Regions from separate parts of the Homo sapiens genome. Here regions 1, 2, 4, 5, 6 and 7 are each linked to region 3. Evidence: promoter capture Hi-C in 16 types of primary human blood cells and fetal thymus (Javierre and others, 2016). All regions are on one chromosome and are shown on one strand. Each heading gives the region's core, a stretch centred on a gene start or on the middle of the fragment in contact. The rest is flanking DNA. Distances are from core to core; before and after follow the strand shown.

Region 1 (4,326 bases), core at 69-2,568, 620 kb after region 3:
GTAAAACTTAAATAGAAACAAGGTCCTTCAAATGTTCCTTTGGCCAAAAGCTGAAGGGAGTTACTGAGAAAATAGTTAACAATTACTGTCAGGTGTCATCACTGTTCAAAAGGTAAGCACATTTAGAATTTTGTTCTTGACAGTTAACTGACTAATCTTACTTCCACAAAATATGTGAATTTGCTGCTTCTGAGAGGCAATGTGAAAGAGGGAGTATTACTTTTATGTACAAAGTTATTTATTTATAGAAATTTTGGTACAGTGTACATTGAAAACCATGTAAAATATTGAAGTGTCTAACAAATGGCATTGAAGTGTCTTTAATAAAGGTTCATTTATAAATGTCAGTATAGTTGGTGGTCCTTCTTTTACAAACGCAGTCATTCTGCCTTTAATTATCTTCCCCCAAAAAAGAAAAAAAAAATAGGCGAAGCAAAATCACATACTGTTTGTTTGCTCCAGGGCAGACAACACTGCTAGATTCCTGACATTTTGTTTTGAATTTTTCTACACCTGGAGCTTGTTAGTCAAGGTCTAAAATCCCTAAGTGTGGTGACCTTTCCATTTCATCCTGCCTTTTCAAAGCTGGCCCAGGCCCTCCTTTCAGTCTGACATGAGAATGGCGAGAATGGCTCACCCACCGTGCCCTCCTGCACGAAGCCAGCTGGGCCCACCTAGTCACTTGAGTTGCAGCTGCTTTCTCTCACACACCACAGGGGGCGCTGGACACATCTCTGTAAAATAATACAATTGTGCGTTTTTATGGGTGAAATCTGAGGGTAATTAAAACCAGCAGCCTAGTTACCCAGAAAGAGTGCTTGCTATGCACCTGTAGTTCAATCTTTCTTTCTTTTTCAACAAAGCCTACCCTTACACAACAGGAATTAACTAGGGGGAGAAACACCCACATACACAACTCTTCCCCAAGTCTCCTTTTCCCAAACAAACAAACAAGCTATTCTTTTAGAATTATAACCATCTTGCCTTCTGCTGAATCCACCATCAGGTGGCAGGAAATGAAAGATCAGATACAGATCAAATGAAAGCTCTAAAAGGCCTGGCCTCAGCATTACCAAACTTATTTATTAAGAGGTTCTGAGGAAATTGTTCAGAGTACCGCCACAGACCCCGTTTTCTTCTCTTAGCTCTCTGGCATACAGGCCAATGACTTCATACCAGCCAGCCTATACCACGGATGGCACAATCTCCATGCCGGTATCTTAGCACAACTGGTCTTCAGCACTGGGGCCTATAGTTCAGACAGCTGCTCAGCGGAAGAGGGTTTGCACTGCAGGCCCCTCTCTTGACAGAAGTGGAGGTGAGGCTTGTCTCTGCTTCAAGGACTCTTTCTGCCAACTTCCAACAGCAAGCTGTGCGTTCGGTCATAAGCCCCCAGAAAGATGAAACCTCCCAGACTGATGGCTGCCATTCGAGGGAAGACACCTGCAAATAATCTAGGGGAAAAAACAGGATTTTTAATGTTGTGCGTATTTTAAAAAAAGGTTAAATTCCAATACCCACAGCTTGCTCAGCTCAATACACCATGCTCATTAGTGGCTAACTACCAAACAGCTTGTGAACGCTCCCAAATAAGGCAAGTAATAGCTGTGTCCCAACAGTAGTTCTAAAACTTTCATGCCATTTTTCCCTTTGAAACATGAAATTGATTTTTTTTAAAAAGGTGTTAAAGAGCTGAATCCTAGGTAAGGCTGGAAGGCACTTCCAGCCCACACCTCTAAAGTGATCTCCAGGGGTTGCTCAGTGAAGAGATTTTTGGGCAATGCTGCCGCTCCACCCACTGACTCAGTTGCATTTTGTCCTTCGAGACCCCAAAACATGACGTCACGACAACGAGTTGAACCTCCATGGATTCCCTGTGTTCCTTTTCTGTCTAAAGGCATGAAAGGCAAATGGGCTGTGGCTGTGAAGGGGGCAGCATGCCTCCACCTGCACAGTCCCCTTGGTATCACAGAAGGTGCTGCTAACCAGCCAAGGTGCAATGTAGAATAATCAGAGCAATGCAAAGTAAAACTACAATGCCACGAGGATACAAATTGGGGATTCATTCTTTAAAACTGCCCCCCCTCCCCATACCTACTCAGATATTTGTTCAAAAATTTTCATTGTGGCATTGCTGATGGTGATATAAGTTATGGCACAGTATAAACATACAGTGGATGATTATGTAGCTGATAAAGATGAGGAAATCTACAGATGCCAACATAAAAAAATTACAAAACAGGTTTAAAAAACTAAGTCCAAGGACTATGATTCCATATCTAAAAGGCAAGCCAGGGATGTGTCTTAAGCCCTAAACTGAATGCCTGCTGCCTGTGGATTATAGGACACATTCCTGGCCCACGCTTCCATAACCTTTGAACCTTTTCACCAAGAGTACAGGCATGACTCAGAGATATTTCAAGTTTGGTCCCAGGCCAAGTTTGGCCACCATAATAGTGAATATTGCAATAAAGCAAGCCATTCAAATTTCTTCGTTTCCCAGGGCACAGAAAAGTTATGTTTCTACTACAGTCTATTAAGTATGCAGTAGCAATTATGTCTAAAAATTGTACATACCTTAATTTTAAAATGCTTTATTGCTAAAAAATGCTCATGAGCATCTGAGCCTGCAGTAAATTGTAATCTTCTGGCTGATAGAGGGTCTTGCTTTGAATGATGGCTGCTAACTGACCAGGGTAGTGGCTGCTGAAGGTTGGAGTGGCTGTGGAAATTTCTAAAAATAGTAATTGTTGCATTGATGGACTCTTCTTTTCATGAAAGATTTCTCTGTAGCACACAATACATTTTGCCCACAGTAGGACCTCTTTCAAAATTGGAGTCAACCGTCTCAACTCTGCCACTGTTTTCTCAACTAAATTGATGAAATATTCTAAATCGTTTATTGTAATTTCAACAGTGTTCACCGTATCTTCACCAGGAGTAGATTCATCTCAATAGATCACTTTCTTTGCTCACCCATAAGAACCAACTCCTCATCCGTTCAAGTTTGATCATGAGATTGTGGCAATTCTTTACATCTTCAGGCTCCACTTCTGACTACGGTGGTCTTGCCATTTCCAGTACATCTAGTATGTGTTTCCCTCCACTAGTCAGCCATGAGGATTGGAATCAACTTCTTCCAAAGTCCCAGCATGGTCAATATTTTGACCTCCTATGAAGCCACTAATGTTCTTACTGGTATCTAGAATGGTGACTCCTTTCTAGAAGGCTTCCAATTTACTTTGCCCACATCTAGCAAAGGAATCACTGTTGATGCAGCTGTAGCCTTATGAAATTTAATAAAACCTGAAAGTTAAAGTAACTCCTTGATCCACAGGCTAAGGAATGGATGTTGATAGTAGGCATGAGAACAACATTCATCTCCAGCAGAACTCCAGGGTGACCAGGTACACTGTCAATGAGCGGAAATATTTTAAAAGGAATCTTTTCCTCTGAGCACTAGGTCCCAGCAGTGGGCTTAAAATATTCAAGAAAGCATGCTGTAAAGAGATGTGCTGTCGCTCAGGCTTTGTTGTTCCATTTCTACAGCAGAGGCAGAGTCGATTTAGCACCATTCTTAAAGGCTCTAGGATTTTCAGAAGAGTCAATGAGCATTGGCTTCAACTTAAAGATACCAGCTGCATTAGCCCCTAACAAGAGAGTCAGCCAGTCCTTTGAAGCTTTGAGGCCAGGCATTGATGTCTCCTCTCTAGCTAGGAAAGTCCTAGATGGCATCTTCTTCTAATCGAAGGCTGTTTCATCTACCCTGAAAATCTGTTGTTTAGTGTTAGTGCCTTCATCGATGATCTTAGCTAGATCTGGGTAACTTGCTGCAGCTTCTCCATCAGCACTTGCCACTTCACCTTACACTTCTGTGTTACAGAGATGACTTCTTTCCTTAAACTTCATGAATCAACCTCTCCTAACTTCAAACCCTGCAGCTTCCTCACCTCTCTCAGCCTTCAGGGAAGAGAGTTAATGCCTTGCTCTGGATTAGGTTTTGGCTTAAGGGGATGTTGTGGCCGGTCTGATCTTCTATCCAGACCAAACTTTCTTCGTATGTGCAATGAGGCTGTTACACTTATCATTTGTGTATTCACTGGATAGCACTTTTCATTTCCTTCAAGAACTTTTCCTTTGCATTTACAATTTGGTTAACTGTCACAAGAGGCCTAGATTCTGGCCTATCTCAGCTTTCCACATGCCTTCCTCACTAAATTTAATCATCTCCAGCTTTTATTTTTAATTAATTAATTTTTTTTTTTGAGATAGGGTCTTGCTGTTACCCAGGCTGGAGTGCAGTGGCACGATCGTGGCCCACAGCAA
Region 2 (3,824 bases), core at 147-2,646, 680 kb before region 3:
GGCAGAAAATCACTTGAATCTGGGAGGTGGAAGTTGCAGTAAGCCGAGATCATGCCATTGCACTCCAGCCTGGGCAACAGAGCAAGACTCAGTCTCAAAAAAATTATCATCATAATAAAATAAATAAATAAATTTAAGAGGTAGAATCTTTATTTATTCTGCCCATTGTAATTAATTTATGTTTAAAACAGCATGTTTCATCCATACTACCAGCACAATGAATCCAGAAATGAATCATTGGCATATGTATGTAAAGAGTTTCAGAACCCTTCTAAACCACCAAAGCAACAAAAACATGAAGAATTTGATGTTATTGTCTAAGTTGAATTGGTTAACATTGATTGAGATGTAACAACAATGTTAACTGCCGTTCCTTTTATAATAATTCAAGCAAAGTATTATGTAAAACCTTCAGCAACATAATGTAAATCACAAGCTATTTAATGCCTTCAGAACAAGTACCAACTATTACAGAGAAATTATTTGACATTTAGGCTAACCTGCAGGGGAATGTCTGTACAGTACTGATTAAAAAGGTATAAAATGACAAAACTTGTGATTAATATTTAAACACTGTAACAATTGTGTGACCTCCTGCAAAGCATCCTTTCTCAGCCTCAGTTTGCTTATCAATAAAATGAGTATAGCACCCACATCATAGGAATATTGTAAAGATAAAATACATAAAACTTAGCGTAGTGTGCATTACTTATTAAATGCAAAGTTAATTATTATACAAATTCAAGTTACAATTTGTGTTAGTCCATTCTCACAGTGTTATAAAGAACTACCTGAGACTGGGTAATTTATGAAGAAAAGAGATTTAATTGGCTCACAGTTTCGCAGGCTGTACAGGAGGCATGGCTGGGGAGGCCTAAGGAAATTTACAATCATTGCAGAGGTGAAGGGGAAGCAAGCACGTCTTCTTACGGATGGCAGGAGAGAGAGAGAGAGAGAGAGAGACAGAGATAGAGAAGGGGAAGATGCTACACACTTTCAAACAACCAGATCACGTGAGAACTCTATCACAAGATAGCACTTGGGGGATGGTGCGAAGCCATTATAACCACCTCCATGGTCCAGTCACCTCCCACCAGGCCCTGCCTCCAACACTCAAAATCCCAATTCAACATGAGATTTGGGTGAGAACACAGAGCCAAACCACATCACAATTTGACCTCAATTTTGGTTGTATGCTGTGCTTTGAAATCCTTGAATGAAAAGTTGTTGATGAATTCTGAACAAGTCAGAAACTTTAGACTGAAGTTCATGTTGTATCTATCACTTATTAAAAGAAAAAAGTGATTGTATTATTCAATGTCATTAGGCATTAACAAAGGGAAGAAAAGTATAGAGAATATATTACTCACAAGCAAAATTCTTTCTAAATGGAATCCTTTACAATGTATCCCATGAGGCATCTGTAGGTCTTTAGGGACACAAAACAATTTATTGAAACTTCTGTGCAAATTGAAACTCATATTTGGAGCAATGCATTAAGAATGTACAGATTATTTATTCACGCTCTTCTCTGAAGGAATTGCAGATATCACTTTTATTATACAAATGCTCCTTCAGTGATTACAATCCCTTCTCTCTGACACATGGATGAGAAAGGAATAAATGCAAGTGCATAAAAAATGAAACCTGCTCTGATAGATAAATTGCATATATTCAAGAATGAGGAAAATTGTGTGTGCATGTTATCATATTAAAAAAATAAAATATATTTGGAACTCCTTGAGTTTCCTTCCTCAATAATGAGAGGCACAGAATGAGAATGTTCACTTATAGTAATCTTATCAGCACACCATCAGTGAGGCCAGAATGAATGGTAGACATTACTCTTGCAGAAACATGAATAGGATATCATTTTGATATTACTTCTGCAAACACAGCTAGCAAAGCCAATGTTCATTCTAAATTGCTGGTCAAGGTTTCACAAGAGTCACAACAAATAAAGAAAAAATCCTTGCAATTTAACCAGCTTTTACTGGGAGCTGTAATGTACCCAGTCCTTTCCTGGGCACTATCATAAATATAAGAAAAAGATGTTGACATTTTCCAGTGCTAACAGGTGAGGTTGGGTTAATTCTGTACTCCACAATTCCAAGGGAGCTAGCCTGAGAGTTTTTATAGTGTGTAAAACATAGGGTTGAGGCTGGGCATGGTCGCTCACGCCTGTAATCCCAGCACTTTGGGAGGCCAAGGCGGACAGATCACCTGAGGTCAGGAGTTGGAGACCAGCCTGGCCAACATGGTGAAACCCTGTCTCTACTAAAAATACAAAAATTAGCTGGGTGTGGTGGTGGGTGCCGGTAATCCCAGCTACTTGGGAGGCTGAGGCATGAGAATCTCTTAAACCCAGGAGGCAGAGGTTGCAGTGAGCCAAGATCACACCACTGCACTCCAGCCTGGGTGATAGAGCAAGACTGTCTCAAAAAAACCAAAAAAACAAAAATACAAAACATAGGGTTGGGATTCACTCACTTGGGGGCGCAGGGCACCTGACTTTGCCACATAAAGTGTAAACATGGGTAAATTTCTTAACTTTTCAGACTTCATTTATTCATCAAATAAGAATAAAAATACCCACCTCTTATCTTCATTATGGGGATTGAATGGATTAATGTATATAAAATATTTAACCCAATACGCTATAGACGTGCCATGGTGGTTAACGTCTGTCTTTGGCTTTCCCCCATATTAGCCTCTGAGACAGGGATTTTGGTGCAAGAAGTTTATTTGAGAAGTGATCCCAAGACACAGAGGGAGAAAAACTGAGACATGAGACAGAGAAGGAAGATAATAAAGGGTGATTTATTGAGCAGCTGACTGCTGTGGGTAACAGAACCCAACTCACTGGGGGAACTCAAAACAAAGTAGAACAGCTTTAGAATTACCCCTTCCCAGAAGCAAAGGTGCTAAGGTACTTATCTACCAACTTTCTGTTATTGGTTTAGGATTGATTCCTGGAGCATTAACCTTTCTGCACTTCTAGCCTGCCCTGCATGCTGGCCAAGCTTGCTTCCAAAGACAGAGAAATGACCTTAGGTGGAGAGAATTAAAGGGTTTTCAGTAAGCTGACTACAGAGGCAAGCACTTAGGGGATACAGACAGAGCTTCAACAGGATCTTCATGACTAAGACTTTATTTAACTTCCCCATGACTCCTTAGCCTCTAGGCTCTCACTGCTTTATGAGGCTTCTATAATTCAGGTAAAATCTTTCTAATTGTATTCTTTCCATTTGAAAATGTTAGGCCAACAGGATTTGAATGTATACCATCTGGGTTGAGTGGAGTTAGAGCTTTGAACTCGGACATACAGATTTTATAGAGAGTTGGCTTGCTAGATGATCTCAAAGAGTTCACAACTGAATTGGGGAGACTGTACACACACAAGTGAAAACATGTAAGTCAAATGCAATTTAGAAGTTTAAGGCACTAAAGTCAGCGCAATGGCATTTTCTAAGAGGTAAGACAAAGTTTCATCACTGCAAAATCTGCTGAAATTCTTAACGTTTTTCATCTAGTATCATTTGCCATTTTACTTTGAAATTTCAAGGCATCTGAATAGAGCACACTTAGTGTTGATTTGTTAAAGTGTGAGCTGTTTGGCATGATAGTAAAATGGACTAATTGTTCAGTATAGTAGAGTAAAAACGACCAAATTTTGGATACTGAATTCTTCTGGTTTATTATTTTGAAGAGAAAACAGAGAAGAAAATAGGTTATTTCCCAACTGTGGTATAAATACAGCATCAAAGCTGAAAGTAAGCATATAAAATTGGAGAAGCTTTTCTGAATATGTAAGTTGTGCTAAT
Region 3 (4,254 bases), core at 1,284-3,783:
TAAGTATACTTAGTAAGCATACATAAGTATGACATTTAAATGATATAATCCAGATTATTAAATTTCAGTAAGATATAGACATTTTTACTTTGCAGTTTTTGTTTTGTTTTGTTTTGTTTTTGTTTTTACTATTCAAATGCAATATACAATAAAAATGTTTTAAAGGAAACTGTACCAACTCTTGTTCCTTAAGAGTCATATGGCTACTAAGAAGCCTGGCTCTGTAATCAAATGTAGCCTCTGCCATTTACTTGTTGGATAGATGATTTAGGCAGGTTATTAAAACTCAATCTCACTGAGCCTCAGCTTCTTCATAAGTAAAATGGAACAACAACTATGCAGAGATAGGATTATAAAGATTATATAAGGCAATACATGTAAAGTAAGCTTAGCCTAGAGCTTGATAAGTAGTAACTGTGACATATATTTAAACATACAAATGACCTAACCATATCTAATAGATAATCTGGGTAAGTGAATCTCACTAGAAGTTTCCATTACCAGGCCAAACTTCATACCTTCTGCATATGTGAGTTTTTTTTTCTTTCCAGCTCACTGTCTTGCGATGATTAATACTTAGTAGTCCAATGACCTACCCTAGGCAAGTCTAAACGGTTACATCACAAGCATCAGACTGAAGTGACTATATTTAACCCAGTATTCTGAGAAAGAGGAACCAGAAACTACTGTTGGAACATTATATGGTTATGTGCCCTATAAAGGTAAGCACCTTCAAAAGGAAAAATCACATTCAGAGTGTGGTTGATAACTTTACTATTATTTATGCACCACTTGTGAATACTGAAAGGCTTAAAGTGAGCATTTGACACAAAAGAAGTTAAGCCCATGCAGAAAACTGCCTTTTCCACTCATCTTAAAGTAGGAAGTTATTTTTCAGACCCAAGTTTTTAAATTTTACTTTTAAAAGTTTTATAGTAGACAATATAAGTAAAAACAAAAACTTCGTTTAACATACTTCTAGAAATCTTGGATATTATTAATTTGGGGCCTTAGGCACAAAGAAACTATATTCATTCTTGCTTTGACCCCCATAGCATTTAAACAATCTATTGAGTGGTAATTTGTTTTTGAAGGAACATGCTACATGTTTTAAACTATTTTATAAAAGAGTCCCATACACTAAAGAAACATGCATTATGGATAACTTTTTGAAAGAAATTCTAGATCAGCACTGTCCAATAAAATTGTCAATGATGAAAATGCTGTATTTCTGTGCTGCCCAATATGGCAGCCACTAGCTGCAGGTGACCAGCAAGCACTCAAAAAGTATTTAGTGTACCTGGGGAACTAAATGTTTTATTTTATTTAACTTATAATTTAAGTTTAAACAGCCACACATGGCTACTGGCTTCCATACTGACCAGCACAAGTCTAGATTTTCTGGTCATTTACCTCAAACACACACACACAGGCCCACTAACTTAAAAAGCAATCACCCGAAATCTAGAAGAATCCCTCAAGTCAAAAGAAGGTCTTAGTTAAGAGAGGACTTGTTTTCTAGTCTCAAGAAACAAAGTCATTGGTTTCATTTCATTATCGCATCTCAATATAAACATCAAGTGGACAATACTGAGGGGGAAAGGGAGCTTGGTGCAGATACCAACAGAAGTTCCTACCATCATCATACCTGAAGTAAGGGCTGATTGCAGCAAGAACGTTTCTATGACAGGAAAATGTTTTCCCGTGATCCACTTCCACTACAATGTCTGTCAACTGTCCTTCATCGTACATTGTTTTGAGTTGCTTAAGAATACTGCAAGCATGGAAGGGGTCCATGGCATCGCTGGCTGGGTCTGAAGATGGAATCCCATTCGGTGTTGGGGAAGACTTACTTAAATCTAGGAGGAGAAAAATCGTACAACTACAAGAAGTGCCGAGCCAGTTACGGCATCGCGGGATTTTTCTGTTTGTGTGTCTGCTTGCTAGGCTTTTTCCCCCTACAAGATATATACAAATGTCTGTGGATATACGCACGACCTCGTGGGACCGCGAGTTAAGGATCTGGGAGACAGAGGGCGGAGCGCGATCGGCGGAACAAGTTCAAAGGCCAGCCTGCTCCTGCGGAGCCCGGCGAGCCCGGCACCCGTGCTCGCGGAGGAAACGCGCTCGCAGCCCAGGAGAGGCGTCTGCGCGGACTCCGCCGAGAGCCGAGGGCAGAGCCTCACGAGGGAAGCTCGAACAACGGCGGCCGCCGGTGCCCCCTCAAGCCGCCTCCCGCTGCCTCCTGGGGCGCAGCGCCGGCGGGTACCCAGCCTCCCCATCCCGGTCCCGCCGGACCGCCCACCGCCCTCCGCACCATTCATCCTCCCTCTTCTCATTCCCCTCCACCGCTTCATCCTTCCCTCTAGCTCCGCACCGCTACGTCCTCATCCCACTGCCTGTGGCCGGCCCCGGCCCACCTTCCCCCTCACCTCCCTCCACGCCGCCCTGGCCACCACACGACCCACCTGCCGACGCGGCCATTTCTCGATGGGGCCCCGACTCCAGCTATTTAAAAAGGAAATGTCATTTCGCTTCTCTAGCTCCCGGGTTCCGGCTCTTCTAAGCTTCCCCTGGCCAATGGGGTGTCCTGTGCATCTGGCTCCACCCCTAGCCTCCGAATTCCTGGCGCTGATTGGCCACGACGCGAGCACATGCGTGTCGGGAAATGTAGTTTGATTGCCCCGGCTCCCGCGTGGTCCGGGTCGGGCGGAGGCCCAAGCCGGGAATTCCTATTGGCTGATTCGGATGGAGGTGGAGAGCAGGGAGCTGGCCAGCCTGTGGCCGTCGAGCGCGCAGTGCCTGCCGGGAGAGGTAGTCTTCTGGCGGAGGAGAACTGTCATTCTGAGGGGCTGGGGTAGGGAAAGCTCTTCAAGTGCGAATTTCCCCATTTTAGGCCTCTCTCCTGGCCCCCGGCACATTTTTTTACCTTTTTCTTCTTCCGTAAACTTCCTGCCAGTGACTAGCTTCCGGTATGAAATCAAGCTCTGCGTGAGAGCTGTAAAACCAGAAAAATGTGGAAATGGACAGGAGGGCTGTTGTCCAAAAATGCAAAGGAAATCTGACGTCCCACCCTGAAGAAAAATATCACAAGGCCCAAAAGCAAGGCGTCTCTGATGAGTCACCTATGACACCCAATTGAAATAGCATCGCCTTGGCCGGGTGCTCTGGTTTCCACAGATTAACTTGGTCTGGTTACAGCGGCTGCTTAGGATCTTCAACTCCCACTGGTGCCTTGCTTTTCTAGCACACCCAGAGAACACCTGTTCCTCACGTGAACATTACAAGGGGATCCAAGATGCTTTACTTTTTGCTCTTGGGAAATGGAGGGGATACAATACTAAGTATTCCGGAATTTCCTTTGAAAAAATACCGGAATGCCCTGAGCCCGGAGCCAGGGATGATTACTGAAGCCCTGGCTCTTTAGTCACTATATGTGAGAACTGACATAAGACCTTTCAACCCCTGAGCGCTTAGATCCTTCATCTGTAACGTGAAGTAATAGTAATCCGTACTCCATGGATTTCATAGGCTGCAACCTTTTGGAAAGAAAATCAAAATTTTACTGTTGACGAATTTTTATTTACTCATCTTGTGTTTCTAACATCTAACGGGGTGCCTGGCACATTATAGATGTTTCATATTTTAAAAATAAATGTAAGGTGCAAATGAGCTAACATTGGGAATGCTATTTCTAGATGTTAAAATGTAAGGAAGTATCAGCGAATGGGAAGAATTTCTAGTAGACATATAGTTAGCCCGTGTGCATAACTTTTCTAGCACTGAAAAGATCAAACCGTTGAACTTCTTGATAAAGAAAGGATCTTGGAATTTAAATTGTGATTGAGAAAGAGAAATAATTATGAAAAACAATTCAGTTCTGTCTTCTAGGTCTGCTGAGAAATTTAGAACTTAAAATACTATAATCCCATGCAAGTTAACAGGAAGTGGTGTTTCCTCATGACTGGGGTTTCTGCATATACATATGCACTTATAATTTCTTCTTTGTGAATGTCCTGTATGCACGTTTCTGGATAGATGAAATTGACTTAATTTTGGTTACTCATAACTTTATTTTTTCGTTTTTATGATGTTGCTTTCTAATTTATTAAAATGGTAGCACTTTATGACAATATGGTTAGTATTGAGGAAAAAAATGGCGTTAATCCTTAGGGTTTGACAACATCTGACGATATTGCAAATAAAAATACAGGGCATGCATTATTTGAGAAATATTTAAACTGAAATATCATT
Region 4 (3,943 bases), core at 761-3,260, 620 kb before region 3:
TCCCCCTCCCTGGCTAAAGAAATTCAAATTACTATAAGAGAAGAGATGACTAACATAGATGGAAAAATTTGGCATGTGTTTTTCTTTTTTATAACTAGGGCATTTTATGTGGAATATTGGGGAGGGCCATGGAATTTAATCATCAAAATTATTATTTCTCCTTAAATGGAGATTTTGACAATGAAATTGTGAAAGAAAGGGTGCTCTCTGCAATGTTATATTTTTCTTTAAAAGCATCTAAGATCAAGTTTTCCATAGCAGTAGTATTTTATTCATCAACAAGAATGAAATGTCTTTCTAAACACAAATAGTGGACTTCAGACCTCACAGACACCAATTATCATTCTGCACAGAGAACATTCAAAATGTCAGATGATCTCAGGAATTTCCCCAGCGAAGGTCGCTCATTTCCTACTCTACAAGTCATTTCTTTGGCAAGCCAGTGTGACAGGCAAACTTGTGAGATTGAGTTAGCTAGGTCACTCAAAACTGCCGCTATAAAGAAGTGATGAGAAGTCTCTTGCTATCAGGTAAATCCCATTAAACTCAAATGTATCCTAAACTATTAAGCACTATTAGATCCTTAGAAGGAGCAGGAGTGGGTTGATTGAATAAAGTCTGTCCCTTGCAAGCTTTCATCTGGATTTATTGGAAAGGACTGTGGGGAGTAATTTAAGGAGGGCTAACAAATTGCTAACTGCAGGGTGTGGAGATGGTAGCAGGGCCCTGTGAGACAGTCAAATCTGATGCATTGAGATGACATGTTTGACCCCTGGTAATGGTGATGGTGAATGTGCACGTAGGTTCTTTAGGGTTTACAAAGCACCTTCACGTACATTATCCCAGCCACCCTGGAAGCTGGTGTTTTGCTAATATCTCTGCTTTACCCGCTTAGTGTGCAAGCTCATTTGAGGTAGAGATCTTGAAAAACACTGCTGTTGTTCCTCTCACACTGGTGATGTGTTTGGGCCACATGGTTGAATAAAAATATCTAGTACTTTCCCTTCTCTGAGTATTGTAAAGGATCTGCTCTGATGGTGTAGTTGGGCGGGTTTTAATGAATAATGAATAGCCCCAGAACAAGATTTTTTCCCCTTTTTGAAAATTTAAAGAATGATCCCATGGCCTAGTATTGTACTCTTTTTAATGTTTTCTTTTCTTTCTTATTTTTTGTTTCTTAAGATGGAGTCTCACTCTGTCATCCAGGCTGGAGTGCAGTGGCTCGATCTCCACTCACTGCAAGCACCGCCTCTCGGGTTCGCGCCATTCTCCTGCCTCAGCCTCCTGAGTAGCTGGGACTACAGGCACCCGCCATCACGCCCAGCTAATTTTTTTGTATTTTTAGTAGAGATGGGGTTTCACTGTATTAGCCAGTATGGTCTCGATGTCCTGACCTCGTGATTCACCCGCTTTGGCCTCCCAAAGTGCTGGGATTACAGGCGTGAGCCACCACGCCCAGCCGCAATTTGTTTTCAAATGAACACTTTGCATGGAGATGATTCTTGGAACACAGACCCTCTTTTGCCACCACAGAGACTCACCTGAGTGGGTGGGGGGAATGACATATATATACACATACATACACATAGGTATATATATATATATTTAAATGAGATGGAGCAGTGACTTAATTTTCAGGAAACAACTTCTAGAGTTATTTGTGCCACAAGTGAGCAGAGACTCAATTTTTATGAACATGAACCTGACATAAGACCAAGCTACTTGGCACAAATATCCTCGCCTTCTTCCATGAGCTCACCTGTTCTGCAGAGATGTTGTCTTGGCAGGCTGCAAGGGCAGTGCCTAAGCACAGGGATGGGTGCTTAATGCTGGCCTGTTGAGGGAGTGTCCGTTACTCTTGTAACTTCAGGCCTCAGTTACTCATGTGTCACATGGACTTTTGGCCTGTCATAATCTCAGGTTTCCTTCAGATCTTATTAATCTTTTCAAAGTAGTTAGAAAATTATTAATTTTATTAAATGTAATTAGATTTTTTTTCTTTTTCTAGCTTGCCTTCTTTCATTTTATTAATAAACCCATCTTTGGGGAATTAAATGTAGTTATTAAATTAACTACATGAAATAGATAACTTTTATTCAGGATAAAACAGCGTATAGAGATTAATATCACAGTCATCTGTGGGTCCAATGTGAAGAAGTTCCAACTACTATTTTCTCAGATTTGCTCAGATCACTTTAAAATAAAAGACGTAAAGTATAAGTGATGAAATCGAAGTCTGTTGTTGTCTCATCGGAAAATCCATGATCCCTTCTGACCCTTTAACATAGTCAGTGTCCTAAACTTGGCATGTCACCTTCCAAATGGTTTTGATATATCTATGTATGTATCTTCCTAAGATTGTTTACTATTATTATTTTCTATTTAAGTGTGCATACTCTTATGTGTTCCTCTTGTTCTACCACTTGCTAGTTTTTCCCCTGTGTTTTGCTTTGTAAATATATTTGCATTGACATATTTCAAGAGCTGGTTCATTCATTGGAACCATTTTACAGTATTCCATTGGATAGGCCAATCTTATTAATCCTTAGCTTTAATGTCTTTGGTTTTTGTTATTTCTATGTAGCATCTCTGTAATCAAGGGAGGCCTTGTGTTCTCTCCTAGGAGAGAATCTCAGATGGGCCACTGTAGCAGATAGAGGTACTGTAGCCTGTTGCCCGCTGAGATTGATATTAAATAATGGAAGAAAGTTATAAGATCAAAGGCCCAGCAGCTCTGATGTGGTGGAATGATGTGCAGAAATGTCAATAATTAAATGTAATACATAGGCCATGTCTTAGTTCATTTTCTGTTGCTTATAAGAGACAGCCTGAAACTAGGTCATTTATAAAGAAAAGGAATTTATTTCTTATAGTTATGGAGCCTGAGGAGTCCAAGGTCAAAGGGCTGTATCTGGTGAGGGCCTTCTTGCTGATGAGACCTCTTCTGCATAGTCCCCAAGGGATGCATGGTGAAGGGGCTGAGAGTACTAGCTCTCATCTCTCTTCTTTTTCTTAGAAAGCCACCGATTTCACTCCCATGATAATCCATTAACCCATTAATCCATTCATCCTTGAATGGATTGGTCCATTCATGAGGGCAAAGCTCTCAGAACCCAATTACCTGTTATAGATCCCACCTCTCAATACTGCCACATTGGAGATTAAGTGCCATATGACTTTTGGAGGGAAGAAACATTCAAACTATAAGGCCAGTTTGGGCAAAAGATTTGAGGTTAAGATTGTTTTTAAAGAAGTGCCTTTTTTATGACTAGCAGGTACATCAGATTTACCACATGCATATCAACTAACATTGTAAAGTGTGTGTGTGTCTAATACTAGATTTCTTTTTTTTTTCCTTAAACCCACATCTAATCCACAAGTAAGCTTTACCTCATCACCAAACTTTATCCAGAATCCCCTCATTTCTTTCTGTCCCCACCTCTACTGCCCTTCTCTATAGTCTAGTTGAGAGATCAGCACACTGGCCTGCTAGCCAAATAAAGCTTTATTGGAACACAGCCATGCCTATTAATTTATTTATGATTGATGGCTAGTTTGCACTACAAAGGCAGAGTTGAGTAGTTGCAACAGAGTCCACCTGGCCTCAAAGCCTATAATATTTACTATCTGGCTCTTTATAGAAAAAGTTTGCTAACCTTAATCTGGTTTAATGCAGCTCTCTCCCAATTGGTTTTATTCTCCAAACAGAAAACAGTGGCTTTTCTAAAACGTGAATTTGATCTTCTCACTTCCCTGTTTAAAACTGAGTGAATGAAGTCTAAACTCTGTATTTGCCTTACCAGCACCTGCATTATCTGGTCCCTGCTGGCATTTTCATGCTCCTCTGTCACCATACTCCCTTGTTCGTGCACGTGCCAACCCCTTTCCTACCCCAGAGCCTTGGAACATGCTGGCCTCTCAGCCTGCTGTGCTTTGCCTCAGT
Region 5 (4,125 bases), core at 838-3,337, 700 kb before region 3:
TCCGCCTCCTGGGTTCAAGTGATTCTCCTGTCTCAGTCTCCCGAACAGCTGGGACTACAGGCATGTACCACCACTCCCGGCTAATCTTTGTATTTTTAGATAAGTTTTCACCATGTTGGCCAGTCTTTTCTCTAACTCCTGACCTAAGGTGATCCACCCACCTCAGCCTCGCAAAGTACTGAGATTACAGGCATGAGCCACCACACCCAGCCTGAGAGTTTTTTTTTTAAAAAAAACACTATCTCAGCCTGGGTCCCCCTAAAAGTAGAGCTGGAAACAGGGGCTTGTATGTAAGTTGTTATTTTGGGAAGTGATCCCAAGGAGTGTGGGGCTGAGAAGACTGAAACAGGGAAGGAGGGAAAGCCTACCCAAGGATGATGCATTATGCATTCTCAGAGAACTAATTCCGTGGGCACATGGGGCTGGGTTCTGCTGAGGACTCTCAGAGGAGCTGTAGAATGCAATTTAGATCATTTATTGAGTGACCACAATGGGAAGTATTTATCCACTGATTCTCCTACCCACTGGTCAGGAATCACCCCACGGAGCATTAACTCTTACACTCCCAGATTGGCAATGGAATGCTTCAGAAAGAGACAGAATAGCTGGAACAGTTACCACAGGTGTCCCATAGGGGAACAGAGGCACCCAGAGGAGAAAGAAAGGCATGTGGTGAAGTTTAGGGGAGGTGCTATCAGGCTTTACCTGGGCAACACTAGGGGTAGCCGCAACAGCTGGGGTGAAAAGGTGGACTGAGAGGATGTGACACAGGACACAAGAAGTACTTGACACAACTACAATGTTATTGTCACTGCTAATCAAATTCATTCCAATTCCTAAGTACCAACTCACACCCAGTTCTAAATCAAATTACTCTATCATTTCAAAGATGTCTTTTTAGAGCTAGTTTGGTCTAATAAGTACTCATACAGGGTCCACAAGAAAACTTGGTTGCTGTGTCTTTAAATCTTGTAATCTAGAACAGCCCACTTTCACCTTGTTCCATGCCATTGATTAGCACAAAAAAAAAGTCAATTATCCTATGGAACATTCCATATTTTGTGTTTACCTGATTAGAAAGTCATTTCACTTTCTCTTGCTCTTTTTTAAATTTAAATTTAAATTTTTTAGAGATTGCGTCTTTCTAGTTTGCCCAGGCTGGCCTCAAGTGATCCTCCTGCTTTGGCCTCCTAGAGCCCTAGGATTACAGGAGCTAGCCACTAAGCCTGGATTATTTCATTTATTTCTCTATCTCCAATATTTTCTATAAATGATTATAAGCTCCAACGGTCTGGTTAAACACAGAAAAGCTTTTCTGTCAAGGAAAGATTGCAAATGAGGCTATGTACTTCACAGTGCATCCCACTGGAAGACACATGTGGTGGAGTGAATGGCGCCCCTCAGAAAGATATGTCCACATCCCAATCCTCAGATATGAATATTACCTTACATGGCAAAAGATGTGATTCACTTGAGCATCTTAAGAAGAGGAATTTACCCTAGATATCTTGGTGGATTGTATGTGCAATCATATGTATTCTCACAGGACAGAGGCAGAGAGAGTTTGAAAGAGAAACACAGAGGTCTTATGAAGATGAAGACAGAGACTGCGGTGATGTAGCCACAAGCCAAGAAACACTAGGGCAGCAACCAAGAATCTAGAAGAGGCAAGAAACGAATTTTCCCCTAAAATCCCTGGAGGGAGCACAGTGCTGCCAGATATTGGACTTCTGGCCTCCAGAATACTGAGACAATAAATGCTAGGTAACAGTAGGAATGTAATAGCCTAACTCCTTCATTGCCAATTTCCCCACAAACTTTCCTTTTAATGGCTCCATTCATTGATGAGTGTAGCCTGCATTCATTATTTATTTAAGGGAAATAAAATAGTGATTTGTGGATTCTATCACTCCTTTCTCCTTTCTTGGTAAGAATTTTTTCACACACAAAACTAAACTTTCCTTGATCACCTTGGGCTTTTTGGTTATTTTAAAATATAGTTCATATAAGAACCACTAAGAATAAATACTTAATTCCACCTTTTCAACTGCTATATTCCCAAATAAGGAATTGGTCTTGATGGTTATTTAAATCCCTATTTATGCCATTGTTTATCTAACATCCGTCTCCTCCACAAGACTGTAAGCTCTGTGGAGCAGAAAATCTGTCTACCTTCTTTGCTGCCTAATCGATAGTGCCTGCCACAAAAGAGAAGCATACCTAAGACATTTTAATAAACAAGAACTCCTACTATCTTGGAGAAATCCCAGAGTCCCAAGAGGAATATGAAGTTGCCCCCTTCTGCTTGCCTTTTTTTTTTTTTTAATCCCAAAGCCCTGAAATTATTTCAGGGGATTTCTTTTCCCCATCCCTAAAGCAAGGAAGCAAAATCCTCTGAGGCAATATAGCAACTCCTTGTGAAGAGAGCCAAATTTTGAAAGGAAGGAATTTCAGGGCCACTTAGGTGAAGTCCGAGCTTATTTTTCTCACCAGAACCATCCTGTTAGGATGTCAGTGCAGGGAGAGACTTTGGCAATCATCTAGTCAAGTGCATTTAAACCTTGCAAATTCAAAACAGCCATCACTACAGTAATAACATCAATCATAATAGTAATAATCATAAACATACCATATGAATCTCCAGGCTCACTGAAACAACCCCTTCAGGAACATCTCAGGAAACTACATCTTAAGTTCCTTGGGTAATTCTGATGTAGCTTGTCTGTAGCACTGGGTTTGAACAATACTGCTATAGTGGAGAGGCTTTCAAAATAATATTTAATAACAGAACCATTGGTAAAACCTCTGTAAAGGTCTGATGTTTTAAAAATTAATTCACTCTAAAACTACTTAATGAAAGCTTCCTAAGAGCTAGAAACTATTCTAGAATCTGAGCATACAGAGGGAAACAAAATTGAAAAGGTCCCTGCCTGCTATGGTTTGAATGTGACTCCCCAAAATTCACATGTTGGGAACCTAATCTCCAATGCAACAATGTTAAGAGGTGGGGCTTAATAAGAGATTGGGCCCCACCTCTTAAAGTAAGTTCAGCCCCTGGTGCCTCTCTCTGTCTTGTGTGCTCACTCCACCTTCCACCATGGGATGACTCTTACCAGATGCCAGGACCATGCTTTTGGACTTCCTAGCCTCAAGAACCTCGAACCAAATTAAACCTCCATTGTTTATAATTTACCCAGTCTGTGGTATTCTGTTAAAGCAAAAGAAAACAGACTAAGACACTGCCCTTGTGGGACTCACATTGGGAGGCAGAAGGCATAGAACAAACTGAAAATAAATAAGTAAATAAGCATATACATATATACCACAATAGCCCCCTTGTACCTTTCTTAGAAAACATAGGTTTTCCTGAAACACAATTGGAAAGTGTGCTCTCCACAAGTACGTGAAGTTACAGGAAATTGTTACCCAACCTCCCAAAGCCAGACCCCGGCAGAGTGGGGATTCCTGCAAACATTCCTTCCTTTGACTCTTATCTACACATGGCCCTTAACATAGAGGTCCAGACAATTTGTTCACTTGGCTTCAGTTTTCACTAGTTAATGAACCCGGTTGGGAGGAGAATGACTACTAGAGGGAAGGAGAGAAATACAATCAGCCTCAGAATTGGAGCGCCTTTATCCAAATCAGCCAGAAGGCACAGCAAGCAGCTCATGGCAGGGATATGTCTGAAGCATCAAGTCCAGGATTTTCAGCCTGTATTTTGCAGGACCAGAACTGAATCAGCATTACCTAAAAAGCCTTTCAAAATACTAAATCCTAGAATGTTGTCCCCAAATATCTTATTCAATGGAATCAGAGTGATACCTGGAAATATGTATTTTTGTGAATCTCTGTATCAGACCTGTCTTTTTGTTGTTGTGAGAACAGTAAAAAACAACTCTCGCCTATTTAAGGGGAAAATAAATATTTTGGAAGTTTATAGTGTGGCTCTCAGAATGAAAGAAAATGCTTAAAATTCAGACCTTGGAAAGAATAAGAACTGAGAGTTATGGGAGTCTGGGAAACAAAACTTAAAAGATGGCTTCTCCACAAGTCATAGTAAAAAAGAATTGGCCCCTACTGTTATCCATGCATGTGTCACTCTAGTCAAGATTAAATTGATTA
Region 6 (3,860 bases), core at 342-2,841, 600 kb after region 3:
CATGGACCCCTGGCCTCATTGCCTCTTCCACCAACGCGCTTCCTCCTGGCCAAGCCTGTTGCCTCCATTAAAGCAGCTTAACAATGCAGAGTAGGTGCTGGGCTGAACCAGTTTGGTGTGGTTGCTTCTGAGACCCTGGGAGGAAGGGAACAGAGCCACCCGAGACAGTCATGCTGTTGCCATCTGGGGAGGATGCCTCATGTATGTGATTCTTAGTTTGTTTCCTCTTTGAATCAAGTTTGACTCTAACTCTGTTGGGAAAGGTTTTGCCTTGCTGAGCAGGCCTCAGCCCAGCTTTGATGGTGCCCTAAGGCTGGCTTGGCTCCTGAGTCATTCCATGGGCTTGTGTTGCGATTTGGGAAACAACAGCCACTTATAGTAGTTAGGACACAGGTCTGGCTAGTCCCTGTGGGTCATCTGTGAAACCAGGACTGTCCTGAAAACCCCTCAGGTGTACCTAGGGTTTCTTTGCATAAGTAATGTATGTTCTGTTTCAGGAACCTTGGAGGGAATGCGATCAGATCTGTCCAGTTTGATGCCTTTGTGAAGATGAAGAATCTTAAAGAGCTGTAAGTATCTGGATTCCCTGGGTCTGATTAATGGTAGTGGAGACTTTCAGAGTAAGAAACTTCTGCAATTGCATTATGCTCACTTGTTAAAAGTTCACATGGTACATATTTTGGATTTTGTGGGCCACAGAGTCTCTGTCATGACTACTTGATTGCATCATTGCAGCAGAAAGCAGCCATAGACATTACATAAGCAGGTGGGTGTGGCTATGTGCCCATAAAGTCACATTGACAGAAGCAGGCAGTCGGGCCGCAGGCTGAAGCTTGCTAACCACTATTCTAGGCAATGTGAAATATACTCTCCTCTATAAAGTGGATAATCACCCCTTCAATTATGTCAGGGCCAAGTTTTCATCTTTTGGGCTTGCTTACGATAAAGGCCTGTGTTGAGAGGGTCTACTTCAGAGCCTGGTGGGCTGTGAGCAAGGCAGAGCTCTGGAGGGGATGGGATGCTTAGGGGTGCAGTGGTGTCTGCCCATACCATTTCCAAGCTTTCTGGGCACGGTTCACAGGTGGTGGTGCTGCCACTGTGGACTTGGACTGTGGGCTCTTGGGTGACAAGGTTGGAAAAGCTTCCCTGTATCCTACTCTGGCAGGGGAGCTAGTCTGGGTCCTCAGGTGTAACACCCAAGTTTTCCTTTCTGGTTTTTTTTTTTTTTTTTTAGCTAGACATGAATCTGATTCTACAGCCAGTAAGTTCTAGCCATGATATCAGTTCCCTGAAGGGGTAACTTTTGGTTCCTAGAAGTGCTGACAGAATGGCAGATGCCACAGGACAGTCATCTTTGTGCCCTGACCTCATCCCCATTCCCCGAGGCCACTCTTGATGAACCCTCAGTTGGGGCAGGGAGGCTGGGACTGGGGAAATGAGGTGCATTCCCCATAGCTGGGAACTGAAGCGGGCCGGGTGACACCAGACTGAGTGAGGAGGGAAGGTGGCCTGGGCACTTGCCCTGTGATGTTCAGCATGCTGTGAGCCTCAGGCCTGCTGAATAGATACCGTCCTTGCAAGGGTTGGATCTTGGAGCGGGTGTCTGTGACGGGTTCATGGAGCTCAGGGCTCTGCAGACAGCTGCTCCGTGCCCAGGGCCTTCCCTCTTCCAGCCTCAGCAGCTCTGCCTCCATCTGTCGGGTGAGACGGAACATACAGAAAGGATTCCATGGCTCTCCTTCCAGAGCAGGGGAGGAGATGATTCCAGACCACCGTGGAAGGGAAGGCTGGACTCAGAGGTGGACTCGCAGTAAAGCAAGTGGAATGAAACATTGGTTGTAGAAGACAAGCGGTGGGGCACAGGAGCATTCACTGTGGAATTCTTTCACCTTTTCTGTCTTTGAAACTTTCAGATATGATGTCAGGACTGAAAAATACCTGATTCAATTTAAACGGGAAGAAGGTATTTTGAGAGAAGGAGGGAGGAGGATAAGATTTTCCTTGGGAAGTTGGGAGGAACTGGACCCTTCCAGAAGCTTGGACCTCCAGCGTGCTTCTGCATGGTTCTGGAGGCTCAGCCTCGGTCTCCTGCCTGGGTTTCCCATCGTTGCTGCATATACCTCGCTGGAGCCGGCCCTGTGCCCAGTCCTCAGATGAGAGAAATGGTTAATTCCACTTGGTCGTCTTTTTCTCCATCAGATCAAGTCAGGTTGTACTGTGCACTTAGTCATCCTCTGGGTAAATTTCCACAAGTGATGATTAGAAACACACTTTGAGTTGGAATCGTGAAAATGCACCATGTGAGCCAGCAAAGCCCTGGGATGGCAGCAGAAGGCAGTAGAGCCGATGGCGCTGTGCTCTCCACGGGTGGAAGAAGGGCGGCAGGAGCCTGCAGAGCCTAGGGGTTGGAATCCTCGCTACTGCCTGGCCCCAGGCCCTCCCCATGTATCCTCTCAGTCCTAACTTGCTGTTTAGGAACATGCTGTCTCCACCCTGAGTACCCACTGTCTTCCTGGAGTCTGGCCTCCTGTCTGAGGTGGGTTTCATGGTGGAAGAAGTAGGAAATCCTCAAAGGCGTTAGCCCCACACGTCCAGGGCGTGTGTAGGATGAGGCTTAGCCCTTTCTACATGTGTCTGATCAAAGATAAATGTCAAATTTGTTTTCCCGTTTGTTCCTGTGGTTCAAATGGAATATGTCCTTGTGTCCTGCACAAATGCTTAACGTCGCACAGGGATGGCCCAGCCTTCTCTCCTAGGCTTTCGTGAACAGTGCCCAGGCTGTTCTGCCTGACTGCACGGAAGTGCCCTCTTGCTGGGGAGCTGGAGGTGCTTCTGACAGCGGAGAGTTCTCCATCCAGGCTGAGTTCCCCCCATGCCTGGCGCAGCCAGCCCTGACCCCCATGCAGGGTGCACTCCTGGGAGCTGCCCTCCCCAAACACTGCATGGGAATTGACCATTTCCTCAGGGATGGCCGTTACAGCCCTTCCGCCACCTGCAGTGACTCCACAGTAGGACAGCCCTCCAGATGGCTCTCAGCAGAACGCTACCTGCCCGTGAAATAAAAATGCAAACTCTCATGCTGATTTTAAGATCTAATATGGGCCAGCATCCCAGTTATAATGGCCTTGAGATAAGTTATTTCTGTTTTTGGAAAAGCACTTTCCAAAATTATAATTATTTTAATAAGATGCCCAACTCATCTAGGGGTGATGGGGAACATGAGGAAGAGTGGATTTTACTTAATTTAGCCTTGGGTCATCTGCTTACACTTCATTCTTCCTTGCTGTGACAGTTTCTCTGCTCATTAGAAATCTGGAGAGAAACAGAAGAAAATGGAAGGCCAGTCCATTTGGTTGCTTTGTTGATGTCTGAGGACAGTGGTGGGTGGAGAAGGCAGCCAAAGTCGTGCTCTTGGCCTGCATGATGTTTTTGGAATTTCTGCGCATACCTGTGCCTCCTGTTTGTCACCATGTACCAGAGACAGTGTATTGCAGGGAAGCCTGTGTGCTCTCTTTCCCAGTCTTCCCTTATCGTGGGCCAGCCATCATTCTTTAGCTCACAGCTCTGAGGTCTTCCAGGAACAAGGCAGCTAGACTCTTGGTTGACTTATCTTCAAGTGACTCCTCAGGAAGGAATGTCCGCTGAGATGGCGATTCCGATTTCTGTTTAAAAAGCTTATCCTTAGTTGCTGAGAAATGAAAAAGAAAATATTCTCTGTTTTGGTTGGAGCCCCACAAAGCTAAAGTTGTGCATTCTCATGCTCCCTGGGCAGTGGCAATTAACTAACAAGCACTATTTAGGGAGCAGAGCCGAATTCTGCCGGCCCCCTGAAGAATACTGGTGCAAAGATCAAGGCACAA
Region 7 (3,974 bases), core at 229-2,728, 650 kb before region 3:
CCCTATGGTTAAATTTAACATTTGACACATATTCCTGATGCTTAGTGTCATTGAAGTTTTTTTTTTTTTTTCACCTTTGCTGTTAGCTTTACTGTTTTGACTTTTGATTGATAGTACGTCCTTAAAGGGTCCACTTTAGTCATTTCTTATTTTTCATATAGTTTTTATTCAGCCCATACCATTTGGCAGGACTGTTGTAGGCCCTGGGGTTTGGGGATGGTGAATGAGGCAGGCAGAGTCTTTGGCCACGTGATACTTTATTTTAATGGAGGTGGGAGAGAGTGAGCCAGTACACATATAACCAATAATGAAAATGATTTCAGCCAATGACAGATTCTGTGAAGAAAATCAGTCAGGGTCATGGGATGGAGAATGGATTGCTTCACAGCAGGGTAGTTTAGACTGGATGATCAGAGGAGACCTATTTGATATGGTGTGTTTTTGATTGGCATAATTTTTTAAACTGAAATATAAGACATACTGAAAAATGAACAATTACAAATGAACAACTTGATGAATTTTCATAAACTGAATGCAAACCCAGCTAACTAGGTACAGATGAAGAAAACGATCATTTAACAACAACCCAGAGGCCCCCTGGTGCTCCTGCCTGTCACTACCTCCACCCTACAAAGGGTCACCAGTCCCCTGACTTATAACGCTGGTTTTGTTCAGTTTTGTACTTTAGGTGAAATTATATGTAGGCATACACATACTTCACATTGCTCAGCATTATATGTAAGTGATCCTGGAGATGGCCTTTTTGACATATGAGCTGAGACCTGAGCGATGAAAGGTAGCCAGCTAGGTGAGACTAAGGGGAAGAGTGTGTTAGGCAGAGCAGACAGCAAGTGCAAAGACTGAGATGAGAATGAGCTGGGCATGTCTAGGTAATTAGAGGGGGAAAGTGGTAGTAGACTAGGTCTGAGAGGAAGACAAGGGCCAAATCATGTGGAGACCTGCAGGGTCTGCTAAGGAGGTTTCAGGGGTTTAAACCATACAGAGGCTGAATCCCAGTCCTGGCAGCCAAAGCACAGGCATGTAATTAATGTACTGTACACGCCCCCTGTTATAAATCTAAGTTAGGCTGGCTTTGAAACTTTTAGCAGAGTGGTGTTCAGTGAATTTAGCAGTAAGGGTCTAACCATGGTTAGAAGTCTTTCCAAAGACCTAAATCCTGGTAGACAGGGGCCATGTTGCTGTGTCCATATAGCCAAGTGAAAAGTGTGTGCAGTACTTGGTGGTGTAATATAGCCAGGCACTGCCATGGTGGGCAAGATATGAGTACATACTGCCAGTCAAGTCTTAGGGGAAATGTTGGCTGAGGGCACTGAGTTTGAAATGGTTCTTAAGTCTAAGCACAGTTTTGTTGTCTCTTAGGGTATTTCCCCTCTCTTTGGCTAGTGGAAGTTCATGGAGCTCTCTTGTAGGAGAAGCACTGCCTTTCAGGTCTCCAATTTTATTTTACTTTTTTTTTGAAAGAGAGTCTCACTCTCACCCAGGCTGGAGTGCGGTGGCCTGATCTTGGCTCACTACAACCTCCTCCTCCTGGGTACAAGCGATTCTCCTGCCTCGGCTTCCTGAGTAGCTGGTACCACAGATGCACGCCACCATGCCTGGCTGATTTTTGTATTTTTAGTAGAGATGGGGTTTCGCCATGTTGGTCAGGTTTGTCTCAAACTCCTGACCTCAAGTGATCTGCCCCCTTCAGCCTCCCAAAGTGTTGGGATTACAGATGTGGGCCACTGTGCCTGGCCAGGCCTCCTATTTTAGAATCCTTGTTGTATGTTTTCTGTGCAGCCCAGAGCTTCTGTCCAGGGACTTACAGAGGAATGTATGTTGTCAAAGAAACTGCTTAAACCCATGCCCCTGCTGTTGTATACTCAGAAAGAATGGCTCCAGCCTAATTTTCTGCCTTTACGGAAGTGGGAGGAGAAAGATGAATGCATGACTTTTGTAAGTGAAGGACTAAAGGTTATGGGCAAGTTCTTATCAGCTAAATGAGGCTGTGGCGGCTGCATTGGAAGTTGTGACTTACCTGTATCTCCCTCTTGCCTAGGAGAATAAATATTTGACTTTTTTCTTTTTTTAAAATGAAGTACAGCTGCAATTTCTGCTTTTAGAAAAGGGAATCCATCTCAAATAATTTAGATGCTAAACTATTGACCTTCCTTGTGGGGAAGACCGTTAAGTGATAGCTTTGTCCTAAATTGGTTTTGTTTGCTGTAAATAAGGCATTTCTTTTATGGGTGAGTGATTGAGTGCACAGACCCACAGTAGTGAGAACATTCCTGCCCTCGTACCCTGGTCTAGTTCTGCAGGCGCAAAGCCCAGAAAGTCACTGAAATATGGCATATTTGGGGGAGGAAAAGAAATTACATAAGTAACCTCAGATCATTTGTCCTTCAGCTGTCTTTACCACTCAATCTGCAATTGTCACTTGATGCATCACTTTCTGTTACTTGATGGAAAAGTTTTACTGAAGAACTTGAGAGATTTGGAAATATTTGAACAAATGATAATATCAGTACACTAATGAAATTTGGAGATTAATCTTGAGAGTTTGTGAGGAAGGTGGAGGTGATGAAGAAGGCAGTCCAGGTGAATTCATGCAGAGGCAGAGGTGAGAGAACAGGGGGAGAGTAGTTGTAGTGAGCAGTTTAGTATGGAGAAGGGAGAGGTGGATAGCAGAAGTTGAGGGACAATGGCACTTTTGGGTATACAAAGAAGTCTAAATGGGGCTTCAGAAAGCCCAGAATTCAGCAGGGAATAAAATTAACCCCCACAACTGAAAAATCAAACAAATATCATTTATGTAGCAAATATTTTCTGAATGCTTATTACAGCTCATTCTTTATAGAATGTTGGGCAGATAAATATGACTGAGTGAATGCAGACAGGAATAAGAAACACAGCTCCTACCTTCAGAGGGCACAGAGGTACAACTGGCCTATAAACCTGTAGTTATACTAAAACATAGTGGGTACTGCAATTGAGCTGTGTTCTTAGCCTTCTAAGATACTGTTGGCCTCTGTCAACCACTTACCCTGTGTCTGCAGAACTATTCCCTCTGATCATTCATTGCCTGATCTCTGTCTTCATCAGCTTTCTGATTCAACGTTGATTCTTCAGATAGGCTTTTTCCTAATTACCTTACCCAGCCCTGCCTTTCCAGGGATTATTCTCTGTACCCTTATCTGCTTTGTTCTTTATAACACTTGACTGTACCTGGTAGTGTTATTTGTTCATTGGCCGTCTTCCCCGCTCTCCTACAAGTTTAAGAATGTAAGCTCCACAAAGGCAAAGTGATACAGCTTAATGTAACAGCGTGAGTGATTCCCCAGCTGGCCGGAGTTGGTATTCAGTAAGCATTTGTGGTCTCAGTCAATGAGTAGGGTGCACAGAGAAGGGAGAGGGAGGTAAGGAACAGGAGAAGTTGAGGGATGATGTGGCTCATTTCAGCAAATGAGGAAGAAGGAAGGGGCTATAGAAATCCTAGTTGTGAAAGGGTCCTCATAATCATAGAACTGTTCCTTGGGCATGTAGTATATAACAAGGCTGCGTGAAGTAATCTCCACACATTATTTCTTTAACCCTTACAACATCACTGCAGGGGAGATTTCACAGTCTCCATGTTTTATAGAAGCAGTCAGAGGCATAGAGAGGCCCTATAGTCATTTGCTTAAAATCACAGTGCCAGGGAGTCACCCGCCTCATGCTGATAAAGGACTTATGCTGTTAAATTATTAAGCTCTGTCACTGAAAGATCCTAGTTGGGCTGAACTAGGCAGTTAAACTGATTGCTTACCTTTCCCCATCTTTTTGCCCTTGAGTGACACTCGCCTTTGGTCATTTGGACTTGTGCTGATGAAGGTGTGCTGATCAACTTGGCATGGTTGCCCTTTCTGGACTCTTATCCACCTTCCTCTCTCTCTGGCTTCAGGGTCTTGTCAACAGAGTAGTAGGGAGATTAA

Evidence for each region. Contacts are between HindIII fragments. The CHiCAGO score rates a contact against its expected background, and 5 or more counts as called.
Region 1: a contact is called between a fragment that was not itself captured here and the fragment with the promoter of KBTBD8 in region 3, in 1 of 17 cell types (fetal thymus). The highest score is 5.0, in fetal thymus.
Region 2: a fragment that was not itself captured here is called in contact with the fragment with the promoter of KBTBD8 in region 3 in 2 of 17 cell types (total B cells and naive B cells); the score reaches 5.6 in total B cells.
Region 4: a contact is called between a fragment that was not itself captured here and the fragment with the promoter of KBTBD8 in region 3, in 1 of 17 cell types (naive B cells). The highest score is 5.8, in naive B cells.
Region 5: a contact is called between a fragment that was not itself captured here and the fragment with the promoter of KBTBD8 in region 3, in 2 of 17 cell types (naive B cells and total B cells). The highest score is 6.9, in naive B cells.
Region 6: a contact is called between a fragment that was not itself captured here and the fragment with the promoter of KBTBD8 in region 3, in 2 of 17 cell types (fetal thymus and total B cells). The highest score is 6.1, in fetal thymus.
Region 7: a fragment that was not itself captured here is called in contact with the fragment with the promoter of KBTBD8 in region 3 in 4 of 17 cell types (total B cells, monocytes, fetal thymus and 1 more); the score reaches 10.2 in total B cells.

The regions. Positions count from the first base shown.
Region 1 is chr3:66,374,818-66,379,143 of GRCh38, reverse strand. It overlaps SLC25A26 (solute carrier family 25 member 26), which reads right to left. Exons shown (of 10, transcript NM_001379210.1): 10 at 221-1,454. The coding sequence ends at 1,337. LRIG1 (leucine rich repeats and immunoglobulin like domains 1) reads left to right here. Exons shown (of 19, transcript NM_015541.3): 19 at 1-347. Among named protein-coding and RNA genes, the nearest start is that of LRIG1, 120 kb to the left of the region's middle. The HindIII fragment of the contact is 4,729 bases long and covers 1-3,682 here.
Region 2 is chr3:67,671,500-67,675,323 of GRCh38, reverse strand. The region is part of intron 3 of SUCLG2-DT (SUCLG2 divergent transcript); the gene reads right to left. Among named protein-coding and RNA genes, the nearest start is that of SUCLG2-DT, 19 kb to the right of the region's middle. The HindIII fragment of the contact is 3,259 bases long and covers 1-3,025 here.
Region 3 is chr3:66,996,586-67,000,839 of GRCh38, reverse strand. It overlaps KBTBD8 (kelch repeat and BTB domain containing 8), which reads right to left and starts at 2,533. Exons shown (of 4, transcript NM_032505.3): 1 at 2,469-2,533; 2 at 1,649-1,859. The coding sequence starts at 2,484. RefSeq lists enhancers at 713-812, 2,776-2,875 and a silencer at 2,116-2,435. The HindIII fragment of the contact is 2,180 bases long and covers 390-2,569 here.
Region 4 is chr3:67,620,737-67,624,679 of GRCh38, reverse strand. The region is part of intron 1 of SUCLG2 (succinate-CoA ligase GDP-forming subunit beta); the gene reads left to right. Among named protein-coding and RNA genes, the nearest start is that of SUCLG2, 32 kb to the left of the region's middle. The HindIII fragment of the contact is 2,752 bases long and covers 635-3,386 here.
Region 5 is chr3:67,692,187-67,696,311 of GRCh38, reverse strand. The region is part of intron 3 of SUCLG2-DT (SUCLG2 divergent transcript); the gene reads right to left. Among named protein-coding and RNA genes, the nearest start is that of SUCLG2-DT, 40 kb to the right of the region's middle. The HindIII fragment of the contact is 1,550 bases long and covers 1,313-2,862 here.
Region 6 is chr3:66,394,821-66,398,680 of GRCh38, reverse strand. LRIG1 (leucine rich repeats and immunoglobulin like domains 1) reads left to right here. Exons shown (of 19, transcript NM_015541.3): 11 at 498-569. Among named protein-coding and RNA genes, the nearest start is that of LRIG1, 100 kb to the left of the region's middle. The HindIII fragment of the contact is 895 bases long and covers 1,144-2,038 here.
Region 7 is chr3:67,648,258-67,652,231 of GRCh38, reverse strand. The region is part of intron 1 of SUCLG2 (succinate-CoA ligase GDP-forming subunit beta); the gene reads left to right. Among named protein-coding and RNA genes, the nearest start is that of SUCLG2, 4.4 kb to the left of the region's middle. RefSeq lists an enhancer at 1,448-1,497. The HindIII fragment of the contact is 7,595 bases long and covers 1-3,974 here.